2 separate regions of the Homo sapiens genome follow, and region 2 is linked to region 1. Evidence: promoter capture Hi-C in human tissues and cell types (Jung and others, 2019). All regions are on one chromosome and are shown on one strand. The core of a region is centred on a gene start or on the middle of the fragment in contact, and the rest is flanking DNA. Distances in the headings are between cores, read along the strand shown. Region 1 holds the start of BCHE (butyrylcholinesterase). Region 2 overlaps BCHE (butyrylcholinesterase).

The links. The method cuts DNA at HindIII sites, captures the fragments that hold promoters and counts their contacts. A contact is called where the count stands out against the background at its distance.
Region 2: a fragment that was not itself captured here is called in contact with the fragment with the promoter of BCHE in region 1 in 2 of the 25 tissues and cell types used here (bladder and hippocampus).

Annotation. Positions count from the first base shown.
Region 1 is chr3:165,834,951-165,842,241 of GRCh38, reverse strand. BCHE (butyrylcholinesterase) reads left to right here and starts at 4,819. Exons shown (of 4, transcript NM_000055.4): 1 at 4,819-4,928. RefSeq lists an enhancer at 4,707-5,001. The HindIII fragment of the contact is 2,864 bases long and covers 2,985-5,848 here.
Region 2 is chr3:165,793,247-165,800,537 of GRCh38, reverse strand. All of the region lies in intron 2 of BCHE (butyrylcholinesterase), which reads left to right. Among named protein-coding and RNA genes, the nearest start is that of BCHE, 41 kb to the left of the region's middle. The HindIII fragment of the contact is 6,653 bases long and covers 1-6,030 here.

The DNA.
Region 1 (7,291 bases), core at 3,570-6,069:
GCAAAAGGTACAGTTGTGCATGAGAATAAGCAATTAAAAAAAAGAAAAAGCATATATATATATATGGTAGCACAAAAATGTCCTTAGTATCCAAGCTCCAGGACTTTGCCTCTTAGTGTGTAGTTTGTGAACTCCCTCTATCAGCTTCACAGAGGACAGTAGTATAACGCTGTCCTCAAGTCTACTGAAACCAAAGCCCAGGGATGTGGCCTAGAAATCTGGATGTTTAAATAGCACTTTGATGAATTTGATAATGTGTTACTTTGCAATTTTTCTGAGAGTGAGACTCCAAAGATAGTCAAGGGTTTGGGAAGAGTAAATTTAAGCCAATTCAGTAAATTAGGTGATAAACAAAGAAGCTTGCTGTTTTTCTCTCTTTTTTTATGTTTTAAAACAATGAGTTTCTCCTTTTTTGCTCAAGCCCTGAACAATTTAGTTCAGAATTTGTTTTCTTACTTTGATTCTGCTGGCTTTGCCAATTCCATGAAAATCCACTTGGCACCACATTTCCTTAGAAGCTCTTGCTTTTTCTTGATTTTCTTTCTGTTCTTAGAGTCTAATATTCTAGTGTCTCACCAAATTGTTGTTGTCTCTTTCCAAAACTCCTTTAACCAAACTATCTGTATCTTCATGTAAAAGGCACCACAGACCTCCCATCACTCACTCTCCCTTAACCCCAAAATATCTATGTGTTATCCCTTACAGATGTCACTTCCTGCAAGGCCTTCCATATTAGTTGCTACAACATCACTAAAGAATTTTATTACCTGTGGCTCTGGACCTACTTCTAATATCTCTGGAGATATCCACCTTCAAACACCTGCCACATCCAGCTATGAGGGTCTAGTACCTGGGCTCCAGAGACATGTTCAGGTTAGTTCTGATTATAAGAACATTTCTCTTTTTTGCCAGAATTGTTGGAAAGTTATCTCTATTCAACAGTCTGTGTAGGATTTCAGAAGATTGAATATACATATAAATATATATACATACACACATGTATATATACACACACACATATATGTATATGTACTTTGTCCATGTCGTATTTGGTTATTCCAATTCTGGGAAAATAAATTAAGAAAATAATTAAAAGATGCACTCAAATATCGATATACAAAATGCCTATTGTAATAATACATAAAAAAAGTCAGAAGCTAACCTCGGTATCTGTATGATTTGGAGCAAGTTACTTAAACTCTTTGTGGCTATATTTTCTCAAATGTAAAATAAGGTTAATAATAGTGCTTATTTTAAAGGTAGTCATGAGTTTTAAATGAATTCATGTATTCAAAGTGGATAGAATAGTGCTTTCAAATAATATTTATTACCTAAAATTATTATTATCATCATATAAGTAACAAGAGATACAATGAACCATAATATGCCCATATGATAATATATCACACAGTAATCAAAATATTTTAATAGGAAATTAATATCATAAGATAAAAAGCAAGAAGAATGATGATAAGCCATTTGACTACCACTATATTTATCTATGTAACTATAACCACATACACATATTTTAAAAAATTGATTGGAATATACAAAATGGTCTTTTCATTCTCTGTGATATGTAAAATGTAGAAATATACTTTTCTGGGCTGGATGCAGTAGCTCACACCTATAATCCCAGCACTTTGGGAGGCCGAGGTTGGTGGAGCACCTGAGGTCAGGAATTCGAGACCAGCCTGGCCAACATAGTGAAATCCTGTGTCTACTAAAAATACAAAAATTAGCCAGATTTGGTGGTGGGTGCCTGTAATCCCAGCTACTCAGGAGGCTGAGGCAGGAAAATTGCTTGAACCCAGGAGGCAGAGGTTGCAGTGAGCCGAGATCCTGCCACTGCACTCCAGCCTGGGCGACAGAGTGAGACTCCATCTCAGGAAAAAAAAAAAAAAATCTATCTATCTATCTATCTATCTATCTATCTATCTATCTATCTATCTATCTATACTTATATATACTTTTCTTTGTTATCCATATTCATTTCAGAGAATGCAGTGCTATTGTAAAAAAAATGAATAAAATTAATATAAGTTTAGAGCACTTTTTTGGCATCAGTATGCCTAAGGAAAACTAATGTATAATACAGGATTAATGTTTTTCACACCATCTCAAATCTTACTGAATGCTGCTATCTAGAAAACAGTGGTAACTGAGTTACAATGGGACCTTAAAAGCAAAAAACCACTGTGACTGGCTAACTGAAAGTGATCATAGAGCCAAAACCATAATGATTGTCCTGCCCAAGCTTCAGCATATATGGTTGCAAAATGTGCGCAGTGTTAATGCCGTGTCAAGTGTCTTGTGGTATTTCATCAGTGTCGCTTACAAGGCATACTCAACATTTAACAGCAGGATCATTAACCATCCATGCTGTGATGTAATGGAATAGTGCTTCCCTACTAACCCTGAAACAAGCTCACTGTGTGTGACCTACATCCTTCCGCTGGATGAGTGTGAGAAAATGATGACACCACAGAAGCAAAGCAGCTGCTGTAAGTTGAGCCACAAGGAAGAAACTCTCAAGACAGGAAGAATAAATGCTTTAGAGGTGCACTAAAATAATGAATGAACTAATGTGGCATAGCTGTGAAATCATGCGAGGAAAAGAACTACAGGGACAGTAACAGAAGGTGGTTCTTTGAAGTAAAGACATTGAGAAGAAGAAAAATTGCCAACTTGTGTAATCAGTTGATGTTGCTAGTTAGCCAGTTTAAACATGCGTTAAAGATAAAGATCTGCTTGAAACCAATTATTTTATTGTTTGGCTTCCTGTTTAAAGATGAAAATGAAATATGTGTATATATGTGACATATTTTACCTAGCAGTGAGTAGATGCAGGAAGCATGTAAAATGCTTTGCTGAATTCACTAACGTCACAAAATATTCCTTAATAATTGCCGCGTTTGATAGGCTGACCTTATGCTAGCACAGGAAACAATGCAGTGGACTTGGGTTGGAGAGAAGAATTTTGACATTTGGATTTTTAAAAATCATGTATATTGAACCCATGAACTCTCATGTGGAACATCAGATTTACTATATTTTAAACAGAAATGCCATCACTATAAAAACCATTGCAAATTTGTCAATATACTTCCATTTAAAAAGCCTTTTCCTGCTTTTATTGATTTATTGATTAATTTTTTTTTGAGACAGGATCTCACTCTGTCACCCACGATGAAGTGCAGTGGCACAATCGTGGCTTGCAGCCTCGACCTCCTAGGCTCAGGTGATACTCTTACCTCAGCTACCTCCCAAGTAACTGGGAATGTAGGCTTGCACCACCATGTCTGACCCATTTTCTTGCAGAAATTGAGTTTTGCTATGTTGTCCAGACTTGTCTTGAACTCCCAGACTGAAGCAATCCGCCCACTTAGGCCTCCTAAAATGTTGGGATTACAGTCATGAACCACTGTGCTCCACCTCCTTTTTCTCCTTTTCAGATAGATTATGTATTCTGTACCTTTTGTGTAACTAACTTGTTATTACATAAACTATATTCTAAATACATTATAAATTATTGTGATCATGATATTTATCATTGAATTAACACTGCCTAAGTAGCAATTTTCACAGAAAAGATAATTTTAAAAGACCAAAATGGTTATTCTCTTGGAAGCAGTTGACATAAAATAACAGAATAATACAGATTAAAATTCTGTTTTCCAACAGCTACTAGTGGTAAGAAATATAGTAAGCTTCTGATTTGTAGAAACCTTAGCTTTCTCATCTGATGAGGTGGTTAATAATATTAACTCTCATATTTGCTGAAATAATATAAAATATTTAATATAAATTGTCAATTATAATGACTGGCATAAGGTAGAATTACAACAAATGCTAATTATATTTGCTTGTTTGAAAATTTAACACTCTATTAAAAGGCAAAAAAGTGCTCACCTGCAAATATTAATACATGCCTTCTGTTTAGTCCATAGAAAGCCCACAAGTAAGAGATTCAAAAGTGAAAGCTATCACTTACAGAAGATTAAGAATATATTGCATTGAGAAGATAGGGATTAAGGAGTTTATCAAAGGTTTTTTAAAAAATTATTTTCCTGAACATCATTTCAAGAAAGATAAGCGCCAAAGACATAAATATATTCTCCAGAGCATGTGCACTGCAAGTTGACAAATGTGTCTCTTTTATAGAGTTTGGTGAAGGTTATTCATTTTATTTTTCCTGTCTTGACCAGAAAATTGTGGCTTCTCATCATGTATGACTGCCTGCAGGGTCTTCTGAATAGGAAATTACCAATGCTGAAATTTGTATGACTTAAATAAGTGTTGAAGTGTGGGGGTTGAAAGGAGATACATATCAGAGACATCCATTCAGTTAATAGAACTAAGTTTTTGATTTGCATAGCTTATATCTAGAGCATTGTGTTTCTTATTTTCTATATTACTATCTTCTCTAACTATATAATTAGCACAGATTGAAGCTATAATGGATTTCAATAATAGCACTACTTTAGAATGATGTATACGTCTTTAAATCTTAAGACAAGCATAGGAAATATGTATATTCTTAAAAAAAGGAAAATTTTTTTAAAGTTTAGAGTTAAAAGAAACATGCATTTTCTGTTACATTTCAGATTATTTTAGTTAAAGAATCTTCTATGCTTTTTTTCTTCATTCTTAGAAGACTACCTGCAATTGTAAAGCATGAATCCTGTAATACTTCTGTAAATGAATCACTATTGCATTTATACCATTAGCCTCTGAACAGATTTCAAGTTGCTGCTGCCAACTCTCGCGAGCTTTGTCAGTAACAGTTGATTGTTACATTCAGTAACACTGAATGTCAGTGCAGTCCAATTTACAGGCTGGAGCAGCAGCTGCATCCTGCATTTCCCCGAAGTATTACATGATTTTCACTCCTTGCAAACTTTGCCATCTTTGTTGCAGAGAATCGGGTAAGTTGCTCTGAATTTACACCTTCGTGTAGAGATCCAAGTTACTGTAAAGCTCATTCTGTGGGATGAGAGTGATCTCTTCATGTGTTTGTTGTGTCCCTTTGGTGCTCTGTGGGGAACAGTTACTGAAGCTTGCAAATGGGACAGAGGAAGTGAGCCAGCAGGCACATGCATCAAATCTTCCTATTATTCAGGGAACGCAGACTTTGTTTATTTAACTGCTGAGAAAATAATGAATTTATTCAACTCTGTATAAAGGACCATAGCACGTGTGGAATCACTGTGATATATATTCTTAGTGAGTTTCCTAAGAAAAAACATTTCATACTGGCTTACCCTTAAATGCATTGTTTATTGAATCTCTCTGTAAAAGTAATCTTTGATTAGTCTTCCTTTTTTTTTCTTTTTAAATGGGATAAAGTTAGTAGTTAACTTACTTTTTCCTGAACAAAATACTTTTCTCAATCAACATTTTGTCACCTAAAACTTTAACAGTAACAACTGGCAAATGAGAGGTCTGTTTATTTTATGTAAATAAAAACAAAACCTGTTTTCTAATTTGATTTACAGTGATTTATGAGCGTGTCCCCTTTGCCCTTTGTGTTCACTTTTTATATGTTTGTTTAAATTGTAGCAAAATATTTTACATTTGCTATTATTTTACTATTATAGAAATAGTAAGCAAATGTACTTTCTGCTCATCCTATAATCTTGTAAAACTATTATTTTGATAACATCAGTTCCACTTTAACCAGGGAATTAAATATTAAGGATTATAAAATCTATGAATGACTAAAAGTAAACTGAAATGTGATTTCATTGTTTATGATTTCTATTTATTATATATTTTTATTTTATGAGTATGTCTTCTACATTTTTATGAATATATTTCATGATAATAAACTCAATTAGGAGCTCCTGTCACTAGTCTGTGTAATGCCTTCCTTAATATAAACTATCTCATAGTTACAATAAATACAATGACAGTTTACTTATATAAGTAGTTACTTTGTTTAAGGATAAGCGTGAGCTTTTAAAGTGTGACTTTAACATTTGAATAAAAATCTTCAGAATTTTCTCTGGATATAAAATAAAGTAGTCTTTTGGATGCCAAATAAATTTCTAATTGGGTTATCAAAGTTCTGTTTTGTTCTCCTAATTTTTTGTTGTTGTTGTTTGTTTGTATTGTCCTAGTTTTTTAATTGTAAAAATATGTTTGGGATGTATTCCATATTTCATTTTTATAAAACATAAGCTACTAATAGCTAAACAAGTCACATCTTATCTATAAATTTGGTTCCTTCTTCGAGTCATTTCTTGATAAGTATAATATATATTTACATTGAATATTATCTTCATTTCGATGGTTTCTTGCCAGCATCTGCTCATTCTTACCAAAATTAGACGGTCCCAGATGTTAAGAGAATTGTAATTGAATAGATAGCAACCTAAGAGGAGATTTAATTTTCAGAGAAGACTCAAGAAATCTCTCTAATAAATGTTCAAATTATTCACACAATGAAGTTTGCAAATGTTCTTCCTAATTGAGGACAGATAAAACATCTTAAGTTTCTTATATCTAATGTAGTGTCTTCTATATGTATACATGCCTAAAGCATAGCTGAAGAATCCCTGAAAGACAGTGATGTAGTCTATTTATAATCAGACTTCCTCAATTCCCCACTTCACTTAGTCTGCAACAAAACAAGCTTTTTAAGTTTGATATAAAGACGTCGTTGTTCCAATTTCTTCAAATACATTTAAGAGAGCTTGTTCTAGATCATATTAATATTATCTAGATGGCTCTTTCTCTACCATTTTAAGAGGGTTTATTTCCAAGTAGAAATAAATATTTATTTAATTGTAACTTTTTAAAAGATAGGGAAATTATACACAGGGAAAATATTTTGAATATTTGCTTGAACATCTTTTAAAAATTCTTGGCTTGTCCCTTATTTTGAAAATCTGGTTGATATTCAAGTATCCCAAAAAATAGCTCTTTATACAAATTATTTTATCACACTCACATCTTATAGTATAACATTTAGTATTTTTTGTTAAAATCAGCTAGGGAATATTAATAGTACTTTCAAAATTGAATTAAAAATACAAAAAAAGATTTGTCACCTTTTTTATTTGAAAGTTATTGTTATAACAGTTTAGCATTTTCAAAAATTGCCAGTAAATTTTCTTAATTCCAAACAAAAACTCAGTTCCTCAAAAACTCAAATTCCTCAAAAACTCAATTCCTCAAAAACTAGAATGGTCTGAATTCCAAACAAAAACTCCTGTCTTTATTTCCAATATTAAATACTATTTTGATAAGCAAATTGATCTAAATTCAGATACACAGCTGTATTTGT
Region 2 (7,291 bases), core at 1,455-3,954, 40 kb after region 1:
AGAATTTAAATTTATTCTATAGGAAAAGCAGAGAAACCCTGGGTAAAATTTATGGGGATATTTTTGAGCTTAATATTATATTTGGTATTAATAAAGACATATTTCTCTTTGAGAAAAAAAATAAAAATAGCCCTGGGGCCTGGAATTCTAGTAGGGCCTGAATGCAGGTCTATTTTTCCAACTAGATTTAGTAACGAATAAAGTTGTCAGGGATTGGAATGACCTTGTCCAGATTGTGACACATATTCCATTATTAAAAGTGAAAAAACAGAAGTTAGAATAGCTTTGTGCAGATATACTAAAGAGAATAAAACACTGAATGGAAGATTAGACAACATTACTTCAAGATAACTTGAAATTCTTTTAAAGGGCCTAATATTATTTTTGATTCAAAAAAAGTATTCAAGTAACAGAAAAAAAATTTTGGAGGAAAAAATACCCAGAAAATTGTTACCTGAAATAATTTAAGAATAGAAATCTTTGATTATAAAATACTTCTAATTGCACGCTAATAAAGTAGTTCCATGAGAAATAATTGAAGGCTAAATGGGACATTGTAACACTTTCAAATAGTAGAAAATATGGATGGGATATTTTTAACTTACTAATGATCAGTAAAATAATTGGGAAAAAAGAATTGTGGAAAAATATGGCATTTTATATGGTAGGTAGCACACATATCTTTATTGTTACCTCTCTAATATTAATATAGATTTGAAATTATTTTGGTTAAAGGTTTTCACCAATTACTTAAGTATCTGAAATCGATTATTAAAATGAAATAAGATTATTTTGTGTGTATCACCATTTTAATCATTACAAATTCAATGTTCAATGCTCACTTTGAAAAATTCATTAAGCATGATTTAGGCTCGAGTCTGTATATATGTTTATGGTAACAAAACTGACTTACAATGTTTATTTGTTGTGCTGACAGCTTCCTCCATAAACAGTGTCATTGCTGTCTATGCACCTTAATGTGGCACATTTGGTTGTTTCATCTTACTTTCCCTATATACAACATCTTTTATGTAGATATACAAATAAAATTAAATACACATAGATATATTTAAAATTTTAGCTTCACTAAATTCATTACATTACCTAAAATCCCCTCATTGCATATTAGACACTGTGTATATTAATACATAAAATGATACTAGGTTCAACACCTTAAAATTTTTAACCTAAATTCACTGCTAGGCAGGAGTGTAGGTTCATAAAAGGAAGTTAAACTAAAATAACATACAGCTTTTCTAAAGCAGGAAGAATATGTAAGGCAATTATATTCTCATGATTCCAAGTTGAAATCTGTGCCATTTGGAAGGAAACACAACGCTAAATAGAGACAAAATATTTTGAAAATTGGATAGGATTTTTGTAAAGATTTCAAATAAAATAGAAAAAATATTTTAACTTAAAAGTTGAAAAATGATTTATTTATCAAAGTTTTCTAAGTTATCTGTCAGATGATATAGATATGTTTTGAATAAGTACTAAAGAAATAAGGAGATGAGCTAGTCACCCACAGCCACAGATATTATCCTAAAAACTGTATTATTTGTAATTCTATCATTGAGAATGAAATTTGTTTATATTCCATTTGTATCTCTGTATGCAACTATATACTCTAGTTTTTTTTTATTATTTGTTTGTTTGTTTCGTTTTGTTTTAGAAAAACTGCATGAGAAGACTGCTTACTTCTTTTTTTGTTCAGATGGGGAGCTCACTATGTTGCCCAGGCATATCTAGAAACCTAGGGCTCAAGAAATCCTTCTAACTCAGTCCAGCTTCCCAAGTAGCTAGGATTATAAGCACACACCACAACACTCAGCAAAATTGCTTTTTATTAGGAAACAGTAATATCAATTTTTTTAATGTTAATGTTGAGGTACTTAGTTGAAATCATTAAAACACCAGATTTATGTTTTTGACATTGTAGGCTTTGAGATTTGAAAATTCACCTACCTCAGCCATTCAAGTTGTGTGATATTGGACAATCTCAGCTTCCTTATCTATATAATCTGAATAATAAAATTGCCTCTTTCAAAGAATTATAGTGAATGTTAACTGAGTTTTTGCATAAGAAGTGCTCAGTTCAGTGTCTAATAGATACAAAATTTCTAATAAATGTTTTTTAAAGTATATTCTTCTTAAATTTACTCATATACCTCTGAAACAGGTCTCAAACAACCTCAAAATATCTTAGCCAACATCCACACCAGTTGTTTAGAAGAGAAAATACACCTACACACACACACACACAGACACACACTTTGATTTTTCATTTGAAAGGATACGCTGTAGTTTCAAGTGTATGCAGTATAATTCTAATCACTTTAAAGGTTCTTTCTAATACAATTAGTCTAATGGTTTACTTACTCAGGTAAAACCTTTACCAAACAGCCTTTTATCAGACACTGACTCTATGCAAGTCTACAAGAGTCAAAAAAACAGACATGTTGTCTGCTATTACGGAGCCTTAAAGTCTAATGGAGGTGATTAGTCAAATGTTGGGACCTCCAGTGAATAGTGATATAAAGTCAATAACTTTGAATTCAAGAACAATTATTTGATATGCTGAAACTACCCATTAAAGAAAAACATCACAATTAAATTTTTGTATAATTTTCTTGGAGTATTATTTCCCAAGTCTTTTCTAATATTTAAGTATGCATTTAAAATCAAGCTATTTTAAGATTTGTATATGCTACTACAAAACTAAGTTTCCAGGACATTTTCTGGCAGTTCCTAGACTCATCCCTGAAACTGTGGGCTTGCTGCCATCAATTTTATGGCACAGACTAAAGCAAACAGACGTGAATAAGAGCAAAACCGATAGAATTTGGAAGACTCAAAAAAGAAGCCAATTTGTTTCAAGTTTGAGATTATTTTCTTATCTATAATTAATGCAAAGTCTGCCCCCTTATTAAAATAAGTGTTCTAGTGCCATTATTTGAAAGTACATTTGAGCTTTCTACAGATCATTAGGCTGTCACTCCTCTGGGATTCGTATGATCGCATTCAAATGATAACAGTTGCTTTGTTGTCTCTGGAAGATGAAAATGGGTACAAACATAATGCATCTTCACATTTGGAAATTAGGGAAGACATCTGGATGCACTTGCCCAGCTAATGAATAAAGGGAAAAAGGGAAGAATAAAGGAAGGAAGGAAGGAAGAAAGGAGAGACTGGAGGGAGGGAGGGAGGAAGGAAGGAAGGAAGGAAGGGGGGGAGGGAGGGAGGAAGGAGGGAGGAAGGAAGGAAGGAAGGAAGGGAAGGAGGGAAGGAAGGAAGGGAGGGAAGAAAGAAGGAGGGAAGGAGGGAAGGAAGGAAGGGAGGGAAGAACGAAGGAGGGAAGGAAGGAAGGGAGGGAAGAAGGAAGGAGGGAAGGAGGGAAGGAAGGAAGGGAGGGAAAGAAGGAAGGAAGGGAAAGAAAAAGTTTCTGATTTTCTTTAATATGATTTAGTATTCAGCCCAATTCATTTTCTGAAGTTGGAGGAGGCTAAACATTGCCTCGTATCTCCTCTTTAACTTGCCAGCTAATTATGCAAACCTTTATATCCAAACAATGCAGAGGAAAGAAGACAGAATAATCTTCCAGACCATGAAAGCTTTGTTCATCCATCATACCAACAGTGTACTAAAGATCTTAGAGATCTTTTGTGTGGTAACTCTTTGCCCTTTCAGCTGATGAATAACTGAAGATGTGCAATACAAAGAAATTACTAAAAGAGAACTGTGCACTGGAAACCAATTTGTTTTCATGACTCTATCCAACGACTTTAGTGAAGTATTTAGGAGAGTGGGTTAAGTACACAAGCCTCTTTTAAATACTTATTAAGATTAAAATGTTCACATAATATATAAAAGTATGCTTTAAGTGGGCACTTGATTCCCAGTTAGAAATTTAGGATTAAAAAAACACACTACATCTCAGCAACGGTGAAAATACGTGAAGATTTTGATTTGGATTAAAAAGAAAAAATATTTCTTTGTGCTTAAGGCATTTTATACTCCATTTTATTTCTTGAACAGAACAGAGCTTAACAATACTGACTGACAATATGAACAAGGCTCTTCATTAGGATCTAGTAATAAAACAAATGATTAGAGTAAAGGAAGACTTCTGATACCAGAAATCATTCAAGAAGTCTCACCTTATATGCAGGATTCAGTTTTACATTTTTGTGTGTGTTTTTATTTCCCCTTCAAACCAAATGTTTCTTTCTTACTTATGAGGCATCCACTTTGATAACAGATGTCAAGCTATATTATATCATAATTGGTCTTTGCTTATTGCTAGTGATGAAACCTCATCCAATATTTTTGCATGCCTCCATTTACTACAGCTGTTAATTTTTCTTAAAGTTTGAAAATTATGTGCAGCTAGTATGTCTTCTTCCTAGTATTTTTTTAAATGAAGTGTAATTTGTTCCCCTTTATTAGTGCTGGATGAAAATAAGTCTTCTTTTTTATTTCCTAGAAAGTTTAGCACATTGAAATGTTTTGCCTTTGATCAAATTTGTGTAAAGGATCATACAGATTATATATTTCCTGTGGGGTTCTTCTCTTCTCCTCTTCTCCTCTCCTCTCCCTTTCTCTTCCCTTCTTTTTTCTCATAAAAACCTATATCCAAATTCTCTGTGAAGCTGAGGATGTATTCCAATCCACAAGTCAGGAATGATGAAACAGTAAAAGTTTAATAAGCTACTTGGCCATGGACTCTTATAGCACAGTATATTTAGATACAAGAAATCATCCTTAGTTAATTTATGAATTTTTGCAAATTTCTAAGGTATGCTATTATAATCCTGTCCCTCTAGGTACCTTGATTCCTGCCCAAAAATAGCAAACCTTATTATTTAACTAAGAAAAAAACTGAACAAACTATAATGAATCTAGGGAATTGTTCTTCGGTAATTATTTTTCTCATTTCTACCGTTAGCAATAGAAATGTCTGGAGATGGGAGGAAGCAACTAATAAAAGTGAACTAGATTGAGATATTTGCATTAAATATAATCTAAATTGCAAATAATCCTCTTACATTCTCTATGCACAGCTGCATTATTATACAGTTCACATTGCTTTGGTAACTAATTTTTTCTGCCTTTATTACATCTTCCAGAAAACAAAAAGAATACAGTTATAAAGACCTTCCTAACAAACTATAGTAAGTCAAGATGGAGAATATAAGTGGGCCTTGGAAAATCTGAGTTAGATTTTAGTTTGTGAACAGGCTTAAGAGAAAGTCGTCTATATAATGACTCCTCATCAGCAGATGAAGGACATTGAAGTCAAACGTTTTGCTATGTCACGACACTTGAAGAATCAGTGTGAGTTTTCAATGTGAGTTTTAGAAGATTAATATTTACAAGACATTTTTCTTTAACTTAACACATGAGAAAATGTGAGTTTCTTTTTTAATAAAGTGAAAAGTTTTATTTTAGAACTGATACTGAATTGATCCAAGATACATCCAAAGTTCCGAAAGCTATTCACTTAATTCTTACTGCAAAAACCATTTTTTTCAGTGTATATTTTCCTAGGTTTATGATAGGCACTGGACATGAAAAAATAGATAAGACTGATTTTCTCTGAAGCTCAAAATATAATTTTCAATTTATATAATTTGGCATTGTTACAGTATTTCATTTGTATGTTATAATATAAAATAAAATTTTATATAAATGATATTTGTTCAGTTATTTTGGGTATTTCTAATATTCAATTTGCAGAATACAGAGATGCAAACACACAGACACACACACACATGCACACACACATGTTTGTCTGCTCTATAGGCTGAAAGCTTGTGTGCTTCCAAATTCATATGTTGAAATACTAACTCCCAATGTGATGGTATTAGGTATTAGGAGGTTGGGCCTTGGGAAAGTGATTAGGTGATGAGCGTAGAGCCCTCATGAGTGAGATTAGTGCTCTTATATCAGAGACCTCAAATAGCTCCCTTCTCCCTTCTACTATGTGAGGACACAGCAAAAAGACTGCTGTCTATGAACCAAGAAGTAAGCCCTCTCATCAGACACCAAAGTTGCCAATGCCTTGATTTTGAATTTCCCAGCTTCCAGAATATGAAACATCAATTTCTGTTGTCTGTAAGCTATCCAATGTATGATATTCTGTTATATAATCCCAAGCAGACTATGACAGCTTGTGTATATGTGTGAGTATGCAAAGAAAAAATACTTACATTTTTCTTTTATCTTTAAAGATTCATCTTAGAAGCTTGTAGAAAACCATGAAAGAAAAGGTTTTATAAAACTAACAAATTACCTAGGACATTGCCTTGTGGATTAAAATGGAGCCAGTGTGATTAAATTACTAGTAATGCATTCACGGATTAATATTAAATTGCTGTAATAAAATTCAGTGGATATTAAACTCATTTTATTTGGGTATATAGTTAAGAATAAATACTATAATTAATTTATTTAATTTAAGAAATCTGTGTATTTTTTTTTTTTTATTTGAGATGGAGTGTCGCTCCATCGCCCAGGCTGGAGTGCAGTGGCGCAATCTTGGCTCACTGCAACCTCTGCCTCCCGGGTTCAAGCAATTCTCCTGCCTCAGCCTTCCGAGGAGCTGGGACTACAGGTGCACACCACCACGCCCCGCTATTTTTTTGTATTTTTAGTAGAGACGGGGTTTCACCATATAGGTAAGGCTGGTCTCAAACTCCTTATCCCAGGTGATCCACCGCCTTGGCCTCCCAAAGTGCTGGGATTACAGGCATGAACATGGTAAAAAATGGTTTGCACGTGAGACACTGAAAAGTTGTCCCAGGGTGTCTGATTGCCACAACAAATAGTTACTGGAAGCAGAATTTCACATTACTTGGTTTGGAATACTGTTTTTCTTAAAAATACGGAAATTGTCATTTGTGAACTATTTTCCATGTGGTAGTAGTTTTTAAATGTGAACATTTACTGTGAAGGACGAAGAGGTAACCACACATCAGTTGTGATGTTTCTTACTTATTTTACTCATATTTCTTGCCTGCACACTATGAGTCAGGCACAATTTCAGGCTGTGAACAAAGCAATCAAATGATAGTTTGAATGAGACTTACCCTCTCATGAGAAAAAAGGAAAAAGGACAGCTAAAGTACATAGAAAAATATGAGGTGATAAACACTGACTACTTCAGTTTGGTTCCCAAGGAAGATCTGTCTGAAGAGATGGTAGGAGGAGAATAGGACAAGGAGCTATGCTTTGGGGAAATATAGGCATTGTATATCCTATGAATTGGTATAGTGCATTATGTGTATTT